2 separate regions of the Homo sapiens genome follow, and region 2 is linked to region 1. The links are contacts of gene promoters, found by promoter capture Hi-C in blood cells and fetal thymus (Javierre and others, 2016). All regions are on one chromosome and are shown on one strand. Each heading gives the region's core, a stretch centred on a gene start or on the middle of the fragment in contact. The rest is flanking DNA. Distances are from core to core; before and after follow the strand shown. Region 1 holds the start of GPX7 (glutathione peroxidase 7). Region 2 overlaps TUT4 (terminal uridylyl transferase 4).

The links. Contacts are between HindIII fragments. The CHiCAGO score rates a contact against its expected background, and 5 or more counts as called.
Region 2: a fragment that was not itself captured here is called in contact with the fragment with the promoter of GPX7 in region 1 in 7 of 17 cell types (naive CD4 T cells, total B cells, naive B cells and 4 more); the score reaches 7.6 in naive CD4 T cells.

The regions. Positions count from the first base shown.
Region 1 is chr1:52,599,285-52,606,093 of GRCh38, forward strand. GPX7 (glutathione peroxidase 7) reads left to right here and starts at 3,087. Exons shown (of 3, transcript NM_015696.5): 1 at 3,087-3,263. The coding sequence starts at 3,126. The HindIII fragment of the contact is 11,376 bases long and covers 1-5,380 here.
Region 2 is chr1:52,444,379-52,451,173 of GRCh38, forward strand. It overlaps TUT4 (terminal uridylyl transferase 4), which reads right to left. Exons shown (of 30, transcript NM_001009881.3): 21 at 2,212-2,289; 22 at 1,887-2,064; 23 at 1,579-1,626; 24 at 1,409-1,491. Among named protein-coding and RNA genes, the nearest start is that of PRPF38A, 43 kb to the left of the region's middle. The HindIII fragment of the contact is 679 bases long and covers 3,124-3,802 here.

The sequences.
Region 1 (6,809 bases), core at 1,837-4,336:
TCCTGGGTTCAAGTGATTCTCCTGCCTCAGCCTCCTGAGTAGCTGGAATTACAGGCATGCACCACCACGCTCGGCTAATTTTGTATAAACATGTGAGCCACCTCGCCCGGCTCATCTATCTGGATTTTAACAGGAAATAGCTTGGCCAAACTTGCAACACTCCAAGTTATATGAAGTAGAATTTGAGAACTCCTGGTTACTGGGACACTCAAGAAGGGGCTGAGTGAAAGGGACAGGTGGCAGGAAGAGAGCCCAATGGTTCCAGAAGGCAGAGAGAGAAGAGACCATTTAATAGCTGTGGGACCCATCACAGGCTTAAGGCTCCCAAAAGAGATGGGGAAGAAGGAGCAGGATGGGCAGGGGCACCTTATGTATGCCTTGGCCCTTGCCTGGAGCGCCGTTTCCTCTGCTCTCCACCTCTCCTGATAATATTGCCTTCTCCTGAAGAGTGAGGCCACCTTGGTGGTGCAGAAAAATCCCATGGTCTACACCTGAAGGCCTGGGTTCGAGTCCTAGTAACTATATGATCTTGTGGCCAGCTTCAAAACCTTTGCTTGCCACACTCTAGAGAGTGACTTGGCACTCAAGGCCCTTCTCTATCCTGATGACCCTTCCAATCTCATCTGCCCCACACCCCTTCTCACCTCAAACAGCCAAGCACTTCTCTGACTCTGTGCTGTCATAGATACTGCTCTTTCAGTCTGACGTTGTTGCCCTGACCCTCCTAGAGAATTCCCATTCCTCTTTCAAGATATAACTCCAGTATCACCTCACACCTCCAGAAGGCCTTGCCTGGCTGCTCAGGCTAGGTAGCAACTGCCTCTGGGTCTCTAGGAGGTAGCCCTGGAGCTACGTCAACTCCAACATCTAGACCACATCTGCTCTTGCCCTTTCCTATCAACTCCACAGAACAGCCAGAAGGATTTTTTTTTTGAGATAGTGTCTGTGTCACCCAGGTTGGAGTGCAGTGGTATGATCATAGCTCACTGCAACCTTGAACTCCTGGGCTCAAGCAATCCTCCTGCCTCAGCCTCCTAAATAGCTAGAACCACAGGCACATGCTACCACACGAGGCTAATTTTTAATTTTTATTTTTTTAGATGGAGTCTCGCTCTATCACCCAGGCTGGAGTACAGTGGCACAATCTCTGCTCACTGCAACCTCTGCCTCCCGGGTTCAAGTGATTCTCCTGCCTCAGCCTCCCAAGTAGCTGGGACTACAGGCGTGTGCCACCACACCTGGCTAATTTTTTGTATTTTTAGTAGAGATGGGGTTTCACTGCATTAACCAGGATGGTCTCGTTCTCCTGACCTTGCGATCTGCCTGCCTAGGCCTCCCAAAGTGCTGGGATTACAGGCGTAAGCCATCGCGCCTGGCCTAATTTTTTAATTTTTTGAAGAGACAGTTCTTGCTAGGTTGCCCAGGCTGGTCTTGAACGCCTGGCCTCAAGCAATCCTCCAGTCTTGGCTTCCCAAAGTATTGGGATTACAGGTGTGAGCCACCGGGCCCTGTCGAAAGAGATCTTTCTACAACAAAAGACTCATTGTGATACCTCCCTGCTAAAAAGAACCTTCATTTCTTGGTTTAAAGACCACAGTCCCTACTGTGGCCTACTAGGCTCTGTGTGATCTCACTCCCTCCTGCCTCTCCACCTTTCCCTCTCATCCTTTGTCCTCTCTGTTCCAACCAAATGAGGCTTCTTTGTTACTCAATGCACCATGTTCCTTTCCCCCCAGGACCTTTGCACTTGTATGTTGCTTCATCCTGACCAATTTCTCCTCATTCTTCAGAGCTCAGCTCAAATCTCCCTTTTTCTGGAAAGCCCTCCATGGCCCTCCAGGCTAGTTTAGGTGGTACTCACCACAACAGTAATTTTAGAGCTATTTATAAATTATTTAATTCCTGTGTCTCCCTGGATAGAGATAATGCCCTCCTGTTCATCCCTGCCTAAGAATCACCTAAAGCAAAACTTGGCATAGAAAAGGTGCTCAGGAAGTTTTTGTTGATGACCACAGGAGTGCTTAGCCCTTACCACATTACATAAAATCTGCAGTTTACCTGGTTTCTCTCACACCAGTCTGTGAGTTTCCAGAAAAAACTCACAGCCTGTGAGTACAGGATCCAGCTCCATGTTTGACATTTCATGGGCTCAACAGGGGTTTTCTGAGCAGGGGGAGACATTGTGATGTGCTGCCCAGATCCCCCATCACTGAGGACTTAGGACAGACACCAGCTGCTAGGAGTGCTGTTAGCACAAAGCCTTTAATGTCAGCTTCTCCACAGACAGGGCCATCTTGGCCCTTGTTGCCCCACTTGCCAGGTGGCCCCACATCCAAGGACTGATAAAGGCAGGATGACCTGGCCATCTTAGCTCATCTGATGGGCTACTCTAGCTCTAGAGTCCCTGTCGAGTCAGCTAAAACTGTCTTGGGGCCTGCATGGAGCTCACTACTTTCCCCCTGTGCCACTCCTGTTCCCTCCCATCCTTCCCACGCCTGTTGATCCCAAGGGTGCTCCCTCATAAACATCCTGCACTCCAATCTCCATCTCAGAATCTGCTTCCAGGAACCTAACCTGCAACAGGCCCACGGTCCTCTCTTCTTCTCCCAGCCATCACTTTCAGGGAACATGCATTCATTCACCTGAAGTTTGCAGGCACCATTCAACTGTTAAAGTGTTTCGCATCCGTTTTTCTATTACTTCCATCCTATACCGACTAGCTCCACTTAACATGTGGAGAAACTGAGGTCGGAGTGGGGGCGTGACCAGGCCAGCCTAAGGCCGCTGCACTAATGAGAAGCTGAGCTCTCAGATTTTTGCCTCCCTGTCCCTGCCAAGTCGCTGTTTCCTGGGACAAGAGGGAGCCTCACTGAAACGAACTCCGGTCTCAGGGGACAGAATCCTGAAACCCTGGCTCTGGGGTCCGGGGCAGGGGTGCGCTGCCTCAGGACAGACGGTGAAACTGAGGTCCAGAGCCGGACATCCACCGCCTGCGGAGGGAACGAGAACGCGGCGCGTCCTGCCTTGCGGGCCGAGCGGCGCCAGAGCCGCCTCCTCCCGCCCCCCGCGCTAGATCCCCCCGCCCCGTCTTTGCCCTCGCGACGCCGCCACCTCCGGAACAAGCCATGGTGGCGGCGACGGTGGCAGCGGCGTGGCTGCTCCTGTGGGCTGCGGCCTGCGCGCAGCAGGAGCAGGACTTCTACGACTTCAAGGCGGTCAACATCCGGGGCAAACTGGTGTCGCTGGAGAAGTACCGCGGATCGGTGAGTGCGCGGGGTCTGGCGGCGCCGCTGGGCCCGGCCTCGCCCTGGCGGGGCCTGCTGGGGACGCCCCGCAGCCCGGTCCCCCGCGCGGTGTGGCTCCGAGGACGCTCCAGCCGCGCGGCCGCCAAACCCCGGCCCCCGCCCCGCTCGGCCGTGACCTCTGGCGCGGCGCCCCCATCCCGCGCCCGGCCCGGCCCGGCCCGCGGCTACGTGGCACGGCCTTGGCGCGGAGGAACCCGAAGCGCTCGCAGTCGGCGCCCACTTCGCTACCGGCACCTTTGGGCAGCGGGGTCCAGACCTTCGCCGGGAGGCCGGGCACCACTGCCCAGCCTTTGCCATTCACGGGTGAAAAAAGTAACCGTAGCATCGTGCGGCCTTTCCCTCTCCCGTCCTCATTTTCTGCATCTGGAACGGGGAGTGGCTGATTCGGAGTCCAGTGAAGAACACTGTGGAGATCAATGTGCAGGGCAGAGAGAGAGTTATTTCAGATGCACGGAGACCTCACACGGATCATCCCTGGGAGAGGGCACAAAGGCCCAGAGAGGGCAGGCATTCGCACAAGGTCACACTACACTAGAAAGACGGGGCCTGGAAGAGAACCCCACCGCCACATCCGGGGTCCTCTCTAGGCCAAGTCCTTAGATGGCAGCTCAGGGGCACACATAAGAGTCATCCAGGCTAATTGCCCCCTCATTACCAAGAGGGAATCTAAGCTCAGAGAAGACTTCGGAGAGGAAGGGTATCTGGGTTGAGTCTTTGAATACGAGTGGATTTTAGCAAGACTAAGAAGCAAACAGCAAGAAGGGGGTGGGGGGGCGCGGGGCCAGGAGTTCCAGCTGTTGTGCTTCAAAGAGTCTAAAGCTGGAGGCTACGAGTGGTGGAAGATGAGGCTGAAACGACTGGCAAGGGAGCAGGCGGGACCTTGAACACTACATTGAGAGGCCTGCATGTCACATTATGTGCAGTGAAGAACTCCCAGAGTGGACCTCTTCAGGATGGACCTGGGGACTGGTGTGAAATGGCTGGGGAGTTGAAATCTAATGAACAGGTGGGCCAGCGTCCAGTTTTGGATGAACCACACAAAAATAGATGTCAACATTTTTCTCCTGGGAGCAACACCATCTTTAGTGAAGACCAGTACTCTATAAGCCTTGAAATTTTCGATTATGCTGGGAGTCTTGGGGACAGTAATCCCTGCTTGATTGTCCCCCAGAGTGTCGTGAGTTTCAAATCAGATGAAGGCGTGGATGCACTTAGTAAACTGTAGAGTGCTTTGCACCTGTGTTTGGTGGATCCCAGCAGGAACTTCATTTAGAACTCTGGGCAAAGAACCAAGAACAGGGCCCGCTCCAATTCAGGCCTCCTGTTCTCTCTAGGGCAGCTCACCAGAGAGCCCCAGGTTTAGCGTCTGACCAGCTCTGCTACTTATTAATTCGTTGTTCATTATTGAACACCTACTGTATACTAACTAGATACTAGGTCAGGCCCTGGGGATACAGTGGTGAACAAAACAGATACATTTCCACTAAATGGAGCTTACATGGGGTAAGGAGAAGAAAGACAATAAACAAGGAACTGAGAAATGCACGAGGTAATTCCTAGTAGTAGTAAGTGCTAAGACAAAAATAGAACAAGGTCACACAGCTAGTAAGACAGTAAGAATTTGAACCCAGACAGTCCAGCTCCAGAGTCTATGCTCTTAGTTGCCAAGTTCAGCAGTAAACCAGGGAACAGGGAGTCCAGAAAAGCTGTAATTGGTGCTGAGTTAACCCAGGCTAGGCTTGCTGCTTGGGCAATATGCTCATTCCTTCACCTGCAAACATTTACTGGCTCCTACTACATGTCTGACACTGGGTCCAGCTCTGATGACATAGTCATGAGCAAGATTGACATGGTTGATGCCCTCAGGCTAATTGGGACCATAGTCATTTAGACCAGTATGGATGAATGGGTGACCACTTGGGAATGTGTGGGGTTATGTGTAGTGTGTGCCTTTGTGAATGGTTTACTTCTTCTGTGTACAAATCTGAGTCTGTGTCTGTGCTTGTATATGTACATATGTAAATTAACTGTGTGTACTTGGGTGTGTCTGTCTGTGTTTTGGTTTCTAAGGACCAAGCTTTTTGGTTTCAGGGATGGAACTAGAAGCCAGATTTTCCCCCTTCCAAAAGAGCGGGCAGACATGCAAGTTGTGAGTTAAAAATAAGCAAGCTTTGGCCGGACGCAGTGGCTCACGCCTGTAATCCCAGCACTTCAGGAGGCTGAGGCGGGTGGATCACAAGGTGAGGAGTTCGAGGCTAGCCTGGCCAACATGGTGAAACTCCGTCTGTACTTAAAAAATACAAAAATTAGCTGGGCATGGTGGCGTGTGCCTGTAATCCCAGCTACTCAGGAGGCTGAGGCAGGAGAATTGCTTGAACCCGGGAGGTGGAGGTTGCAGTGAGCCAAGATCGCGCCACTGCACTCCAGCCTTGGTAACAGAGCAAGACTCTGTCTTTAAAAAAAAAAAAAAAAAAAAAAAAGCTTTAATGTTCTCATTGCCCAGGGATCCAGCAGGGGGAAAAAAAGGAAGAACCCTAACTGAGGAAGGGAGTTAACAGTCCCAGTTTCTCACCATTCCAGGCACAGTATGGTGTATGCTGACCTCAAATTGAGGAGGTTGTTCTAATAGCCAGTGGCCCCAGGCATGGGTCCTTTCTCACCTGGTGGAGGTAGGGTACAGGAGGTACAGCTCAGTGGTTCAATCATCTAGCCCAGTAGTTCTCAACTAGGAGTGATTATTCCCTTTAGGGCACAATTGGCAATGTCTGGAGACATTGTTGATTGTCAAGACTGGGCATCTAGTGGGTAGAGGCCAGGGATGCTGCCAAACATCTGATAATAAATAAACAGGACATCCCCCCGACAACAAAGAATTATCTGACCCAAATGTCAATTATGGAGGATAGGGCTAGGCTGCCTAGGCACCGGCTAGGGTTTTAAATCCATTAATAATATATACCTAGAAGCTAAAAACATAGCATTTGAGCCAAAATTCTAATCAAAGTCTTATAATCAAGTTCCATTAGCCAGCTTTGTATTTATTGCCTAAAGGCTTTAATAAATTTAAGGATTAGTCTAATGATAAAAGAAAGTGGTAGGCTGGGCATGGTGGTTCATGACTGTAATCCTAGCACTTTGAGAGGCTTAGCTGGTAGGATTGCCTGAGGCTAAGAGTTTTTGAGTCCAGCCTGGACAACATGGCGAGAACTGTCTCTACCAAAAGTAAAAATTAAAAAATTAGCCAGGTGTGATGGCACGTGCCTGTAGTCCTAGCTATTTGAGAGGCTGAGGTGGGAGGATCACTTCAGCTCAGAAGTTTGAGACTGCAAACGGTTGGGGGGATGTCCTGTTATGATTATGCCATTGCTCCAGCAGCAACAACAACAAAAGTGGTGTTAGTTCTCTGGAGAGGAGGGGGACAAAAAGGTGATTGCCCTGGAGTTATGAGGGTTCTTTTCTCAAGAAAACCTGTGTCTATGTTCCCATGCAGGCGTTTGTGTTTGT
Region 2 (6,795 bases), core at 2,213-4,712, 150 kb before region 1:
TGAGAACCAGTGCTCCAAGGGAAAAGAAGACTTCTCTCTGCTTTTCTTATTCTACCCCCAAGAAATAAGACACCTGAAACTGGACTGAACAAGTTCAAGGACATTCACTATGCAATGTAAATGCACGTTTGTTGTGATGGTTAATACTGAATGTCAATTTCATTGGACTGAAGCACACAAACTATTAATCCTGGGTGTGTCTGTTGGGTTTTGCCAAAAGAGATTAACATTTGAGTCAGTGGGCTGGGGAAGGCACATCTGCACTTAATCTAGTGTGCATAATTTAATCATCTTCCAGTGAACATAAGGCAAGCAGAAAAATGTGAAAAGGCAAGACAGGACTAGCCTCTCAGCCTACATCTTTCTCCTGTGCTGAATGCTTCCAGCCCTCAAATGTCGGACTCCAAGTTCTTCAATTTTGGGACTTGGACTGGCTCTCCTTGCCCCTCAGCTGCAGACACTCTATTATGGGACCTTGTGATCATGTAAATTAATACTTAATAAACTCATATATGTGTGTATATATATATGTATATACATGTATGTGTATATATATGTATATACATGTATGTGTATATACATGTATATACATGTATATGTGTGTATATATATGTATATACATGTATGTGTGTATATATATGTATATATGTGTATATATATATGTGTGTGTGTGTCTGTGTATATATATAATAGGATTATATATATCCTATTAGCTCTGTCCCTCTAAGAGAACCCTAATACATTTGTTCTCTTTCTTGAGATTTCTTCTAAGTCTCCTGCTCTGAAGCTAAAACCTCCTGCAGTCTCCCTAACCATAAGAAAGCAGGCAAAAACCAGAGTGAGGCCAAGAGGAATGTGTGACACTCTCCCACCCAATTCAGGTAGAAGGAAACTTCTCGGTTCCATGCCATCTAATTCAGCTTACTAAAGCTATACAAAAATTAGAGAAGCCCCAACAAATAATAAAATATTTCTTCGGTTTTGTCTTCTATGTGTATATTTTCATCGAGATTTCTGAAGATAAAAGAGGGACAATGAGCAGCACCTAAAATTCAACAATCCAGAGTCTTGACTGACTATTCTCATTCACTCAACAAATCCTTATTTGGTACATCCAATGCGCCAGACACTATGTATGTACTGGAAATAGGTGAACCTTACAGACATGAATCCTGTCTTCGTGGGGCTTATAGTCTAGTGGAGAAGACAGAATTTAACAAATAGTTTAAACAAATAAAATTTTGAAAATATATATCTCACTATGGACTATGATAAATGCAATAAGAAAAAATATACAAAGCTATGACCATCTCTTTCCCTATATCTAACATCAGTTTGGAAACACAATTAAGTTTCTTGTTCTATTTAAAAAAAGAAAAGATTCACAATTCATATAATGTAAACTTACAGCTTCTCTGCCAATGAGTGGATAAAAAGGGGTACCAAAAAGTTTCCTTCCATTGATAAATGCTTTCATGATGAAATTGGTCACTATTAAAGAAAGAAGAAAACAATAAAGATGCAGACATTAATGTGTCAGAGTTTTAAAATCAGAGAATCTCTATATTTAAAACTTACTTTTTCTGGAAACTCCAGCACCAAGGTTATGATTCAAGTCAAAAGGGTCTACAAAAGAAATATATCAATGATTAAGAATTACATTCACTGTACCATAAAAATATACTTAGAAGTCACCGCTGAAGTCTAATACTTATATGTACTCAGACTATACAAATCAGCAAACTCTTCCTCTAAAATTACACATTAAAGGAGGAAAACTGATAAAAGAGGAAGAATCTTCCAAATCCTAATGTATTTCAGTTTTCCCCTCAATTTCGTTGACCAAATTTTGGTTGCTCCTGAATTAATATCAGCTTAAATGTTACCTTCAATTGCAATGCACTTGGAAGTCCACTGCTTCTCAAAAGTTGTCAACAGCTTTTTCTGCCGAATGCTAATTACATATTCCTTGAAATCAAACTCTTCAGTATAGAAACGAAGCAGTCCCAGCCAAAGCTCCCCTAATGATTCTGTGTTCTTTCCAAGTGAAGGTAAACGCTTTTTCTACATATAAAAAAAAAAAGAAAAGAACAATGTCTATACAGTACTATCCAAAACATGGACAGCAAATTTAAGTAAAATTATTAAATTATACAGATGCTAACATATATCAGTGAGCATTCTAGAACATAAAGACTATTTTAAAATTACCAGTTCTTCTGTTTTATCAAAGAAGAAAGCATTCCATCCATCAACCATTCTCTGTGGAATCTGTTTTCCATCAAAGATCTGCATAAAAAAATTAATTGTATTATTAGATTTCAAGTGATCCAACCCAAAGGTCCAAATACTCTAATACCATTTTAGAATTTACCTATAAGACATACTAAAATACTTCTTCCAAAAAGAACATGTCAGGATGATGGTATAATTTGATGCCAAGAAGTTAATGAATAAAACGTATCTGAAAGACCAAAGCTGGAAAAGGATGTCTTTTAAGAGCATTAAACTCCAAATGATACATTTGATGTTATCTACTTGACCTATCAAAACATATCCAGTCCAAGAATAATGAAGCAAAACTTAAAAAAGAAACAGCAGTCATGATGAAACAGCAGTTTCATCAAAGGATCACAGATATAAAAATACAAAATAGATAATACCCACTGATTGTGCACCCAAAGGAAGGCAACAGAACTGTTTTGGGACCTAGTACCTTTAATCATTTATCTATATCAGATAAGGCTAAAAAGCAATTGGACTATCATTTTGTAAAAATGGAAAATTAGGGCCAGGCACGGTGGTTCACGCCTGTAATCCCAGCACTTTGGGAGGCCGAGAATGGTGGATCATGAGGTCAGGAGTTTGAGACCAGCCTGGCCAACATGGTGAAACCCAGTGTCTACTAAAGATACAAAAAATTAGCTGGGCGTGGTGGCGTGCACCTGTAATCCCATCTACTCGGGAGGCTGAGGCAGGAGAAATGCTTGAACCTGGAAAGCAGAGGTTGCAGTCAGCCGAGATCGTGCCACTGCACTCCAGCCTGGGCGACAGGGCGAGACTCCATCTCACCAAAAAAAAACAAAAAAACAAAAAAACAAAAAAAAAAAAGGAAAATTAGGAAGCTTTCCCTTACATTTTGATAAAGACTATAAACTTTATTATGAATAATAATCCGCTGTCCTAAGGAGAAGAAAAAAGGAGAAAAAAACGCTATTTTTACAAGAAAAGTATCCCGTAAGATGTCTGTGTAACTGACTTCCACAAGTAATTGATACTTTTATTCTAAAGGAGGCTTAAGAGATGCAATAAAGTAGGAAGGTGCAACAGATTCAGTCAGGAGACCTAATTTCTAGCCTCTATCCTGAGGAATAGTGGTTCTGGGCAAGACAATCATCTCCCTAAGTGCTCACTTTTCCCAGTGAAAATGAGGAAAGACTATATAAATTAGTCAGTCAGTAGTTTATAAATGGAGAAAACATACCACACCACCTTCTCTTTACCCTCTACCGTGACTAATGGGTCCCAGAATACAGTTAAACCACAATACCATTTAAATCCACTAGTTAAGGTGGGCCTGGGCCCAATGGCCATTTCCATTTTTGATGTGACAGTGATTTATAAAATTAACTACATGTCTGGCCCCTCCAATTTTATCCTCAGATTTAAGTTCTTTGTGGGTAAGGACTATGGCTTATCTCTGAAACCCAGAACCCTACTAGACCAAAGCCACATAGAGAACACTTAATATATGTTTGTTGAATGACTATATTTAATATGTAAGTATGTTACACAGAAATCAAGCTTCCAGGGACTAGGGCTAATAAGTTGCTTTTTAACATTTACATATTACTTAAACAGATACAGTTTACTAAAAGTCATCTAGCACATATTCCGACATTTCATAAAACAAAAGTGAAAGACTGAGGCCGGGCGCAGTGGCTCATGCCTGTAATCCCAGCACTTTGGGAGGCCGAGGCAGGCGGATCACCTGAGGTCAGGAGTTCAAGACCAGCCTGGCCAACATGGCAAAACCCCGTCTCTAATAAAAATACAAAAAATTGGCTGGGCGTGGTGGTTCGTGCTGGTAGTCCCAGCTACTTGGGAGGCGGAGGCAGGAGAATCGCTTGAACTCAGGAGATTGAGGTTGCAATGAGCTGAGATTGTGCCACTACACTCCAGACTGGGTGACTAAGCGAGATTCTGTCTCAAAAAAAAAAAAAAAAAAAAAAAAAGAGGCAATTGCAGCTATTAATATCTGAAACAAAAGACATAGGATTTCTGACCTCAAGAAAGAAGTGAAGATATTAAGGGGCTGACATGTAATATTTTATCCTTAAAGATTCAGACGCTATTATAGGTATTTCATGTTTTGTAAACACAGATTTATTTGCTAGATATTGAAATAAACTACCTCTTTAGAACCCTGTTTTGAGATAATTCATACTTCTGAGTAACAACAATCCAACTCTTTAGATCATGATTGTTTTTAAGAGATTTCATACTTCTCAGTAATATCCATGATCCAGCCCAACTACGTTGGCTGATAACACAGTGGAGTAGGTCTGTGGGCCTTGTAACGTTAATCATCACTCATTTTGCCTATTCTTTTGAATTCTCATGTTTCACTGTGTTTAATTCTCTCCACTCTGTTTCAGCCCCCAGAAGCACTAATGCTATACACTTTTACACACACACACACACAGACACACACACACACACTCTCTCTCCCTGCTGTCTCTCTGTTCTCTCTCATTCAACACGAATCATCTTCAACTTAGCACTCAGTCCTCCCTCTAAACAAGTCAATCATATTATAAGGATCACCAAATAAGTCAATCATATTTATGTAAAGAATGACCCTAAACATTTCCAAAATTCTTATCTTATTGTGATATTCTAATATGTACTGTTATATTTACATTGCATTTTTCTGTTTAGACAGAGTCTCGCTCTGTCACCCAGGCTGGAGTGCAGTGGCACAATCTCAGCTCACTGCAACCTCCACCTCGCCAGTTCAAGCCATTCTTGTGCCTCAGCCTCCCAAGTAGCTGGGATTACAGGCATATGCCACCATGCCTGGCTAATTTTTGTATTTTTTAGTAGAGATGAGGTTTTGCCATATTGGCCAGGCTGGTCTCAAACTCCTGACCTCAAGTAATCTACCCCCCTCGGCCGCCCAAAGTGCTGGGATTACAGGTGTAAACCACTGCGACTGGCCTAACTTGTAATTTTTTAGTTGTGGTAAGATACACAAAATATAAAATTTACCATCATAAGCATACAGTCCTGCGGCCTAAGTATAGTCATACTGTCACGCTACCATCACCACCATCCATTCACAAAAATCTTATCATCTGGTAAAACTAAAACTCTGTATTTATGAAACTATTACTTCCCATTTCTCCCTCCTTGAGATTCCCTGGCAACCACCACTCTACTTTCTGTCCCTATGAATTTGACTACTCTAGGTACTTCATATAAGTAGAATCAAATAGTATTTGTCTTTCTGTGACTGGATTACTTCACTTAGCATAATGTCCTCAAGATTCATTCATTAAGTTGCAAATTTTAAGCTGATATGGGTTAAAAAAATTTTTCATAAAATCATGTGTGAACACTCCCAAATCTTTTTTGGAATTAATTTTTATGTGAAAATTTGCTTTTACTTATTATGATTTGCTAGGGTAGAGCAAAAATCTTCTGCCTAGGACAGCTCTTTTTGACGTAAAGAACTTAGTACTGCTGACCATCAAAAAAATGCTCTTAGCTGTGCCTTAGTAATACCCAGCCATATAAAGTTAAAGCTTAATTACAAATGGAGGCAGACATCATTAGCTTCTTTAAACATATCCTTACCCTTAAAAGATAATTGATGCCAATGGTCAATACTTAAATGATGCCAGAGCAATGGACAATGAGGTCCCATATGACAACCATTAAAAAAGGCCAGAAACAAAATTCCATGTATCATCAGTCTATATATATCACAAAGTCCCCCGAAATCAAACCTCATTATGATAGGAAACATTCCATGAACTGTCTCTTGTTTGATCAATATTAAGCAGATGTCTGTTAAACAGATAATGAAAGAGTTTTTAAAGTTGAATATGGTAGTCCTACCTACATTTTTCCAATAATAATAGCAATAATGCTGCTAATGAGCATAAATCATAATAGTAAAAATAATAATAAAAGCAAGCACTGTTTATGAATGTCTACTTTAGCACCTACTACATTCAAAAGCATTAAATGTTTCTGTTCCTCATATCAACACTGAAATATTATCATTATTACATTTTTAATGATGATGAAACTCAGACTTATGCAGATTGTTAAGGCCAAAATGTTAGAATTAGGATTCTGACTAGTTATTTCTGGCTCTAAATACCATGCCTTGGTATTTCTATTACTTCATGCTACCTCAGTGACTCCTAATCCATGGGTAAGGAGAGAATACAGACAAACCACCAAGAAAATCAAATTTGTGGTCCATTTTTGTTAATCATAGTATTCCGGCAAAGTGGCAAATGATATTACTGGAGAATTAGTACATATGATCCCTATTTAAAGCCTAAACAACGATTATAATAATACAGAGAGTAGGCTGGGCGCGGTGGCACACGCCTGTAATCCCAGCACTCTGGGAGGCCCAGGTGGGCGGGTCACAAGGTCAGGAGATCGAGACCATCCTGGCTAACACGGTGAAACCCCATCTCTACTAAAAATACAAAAAAATAAGCCTGACATGGTGGTGGGCGCCTTTAGTCCCAGCTACTCGGGAGGCTGAGGCAG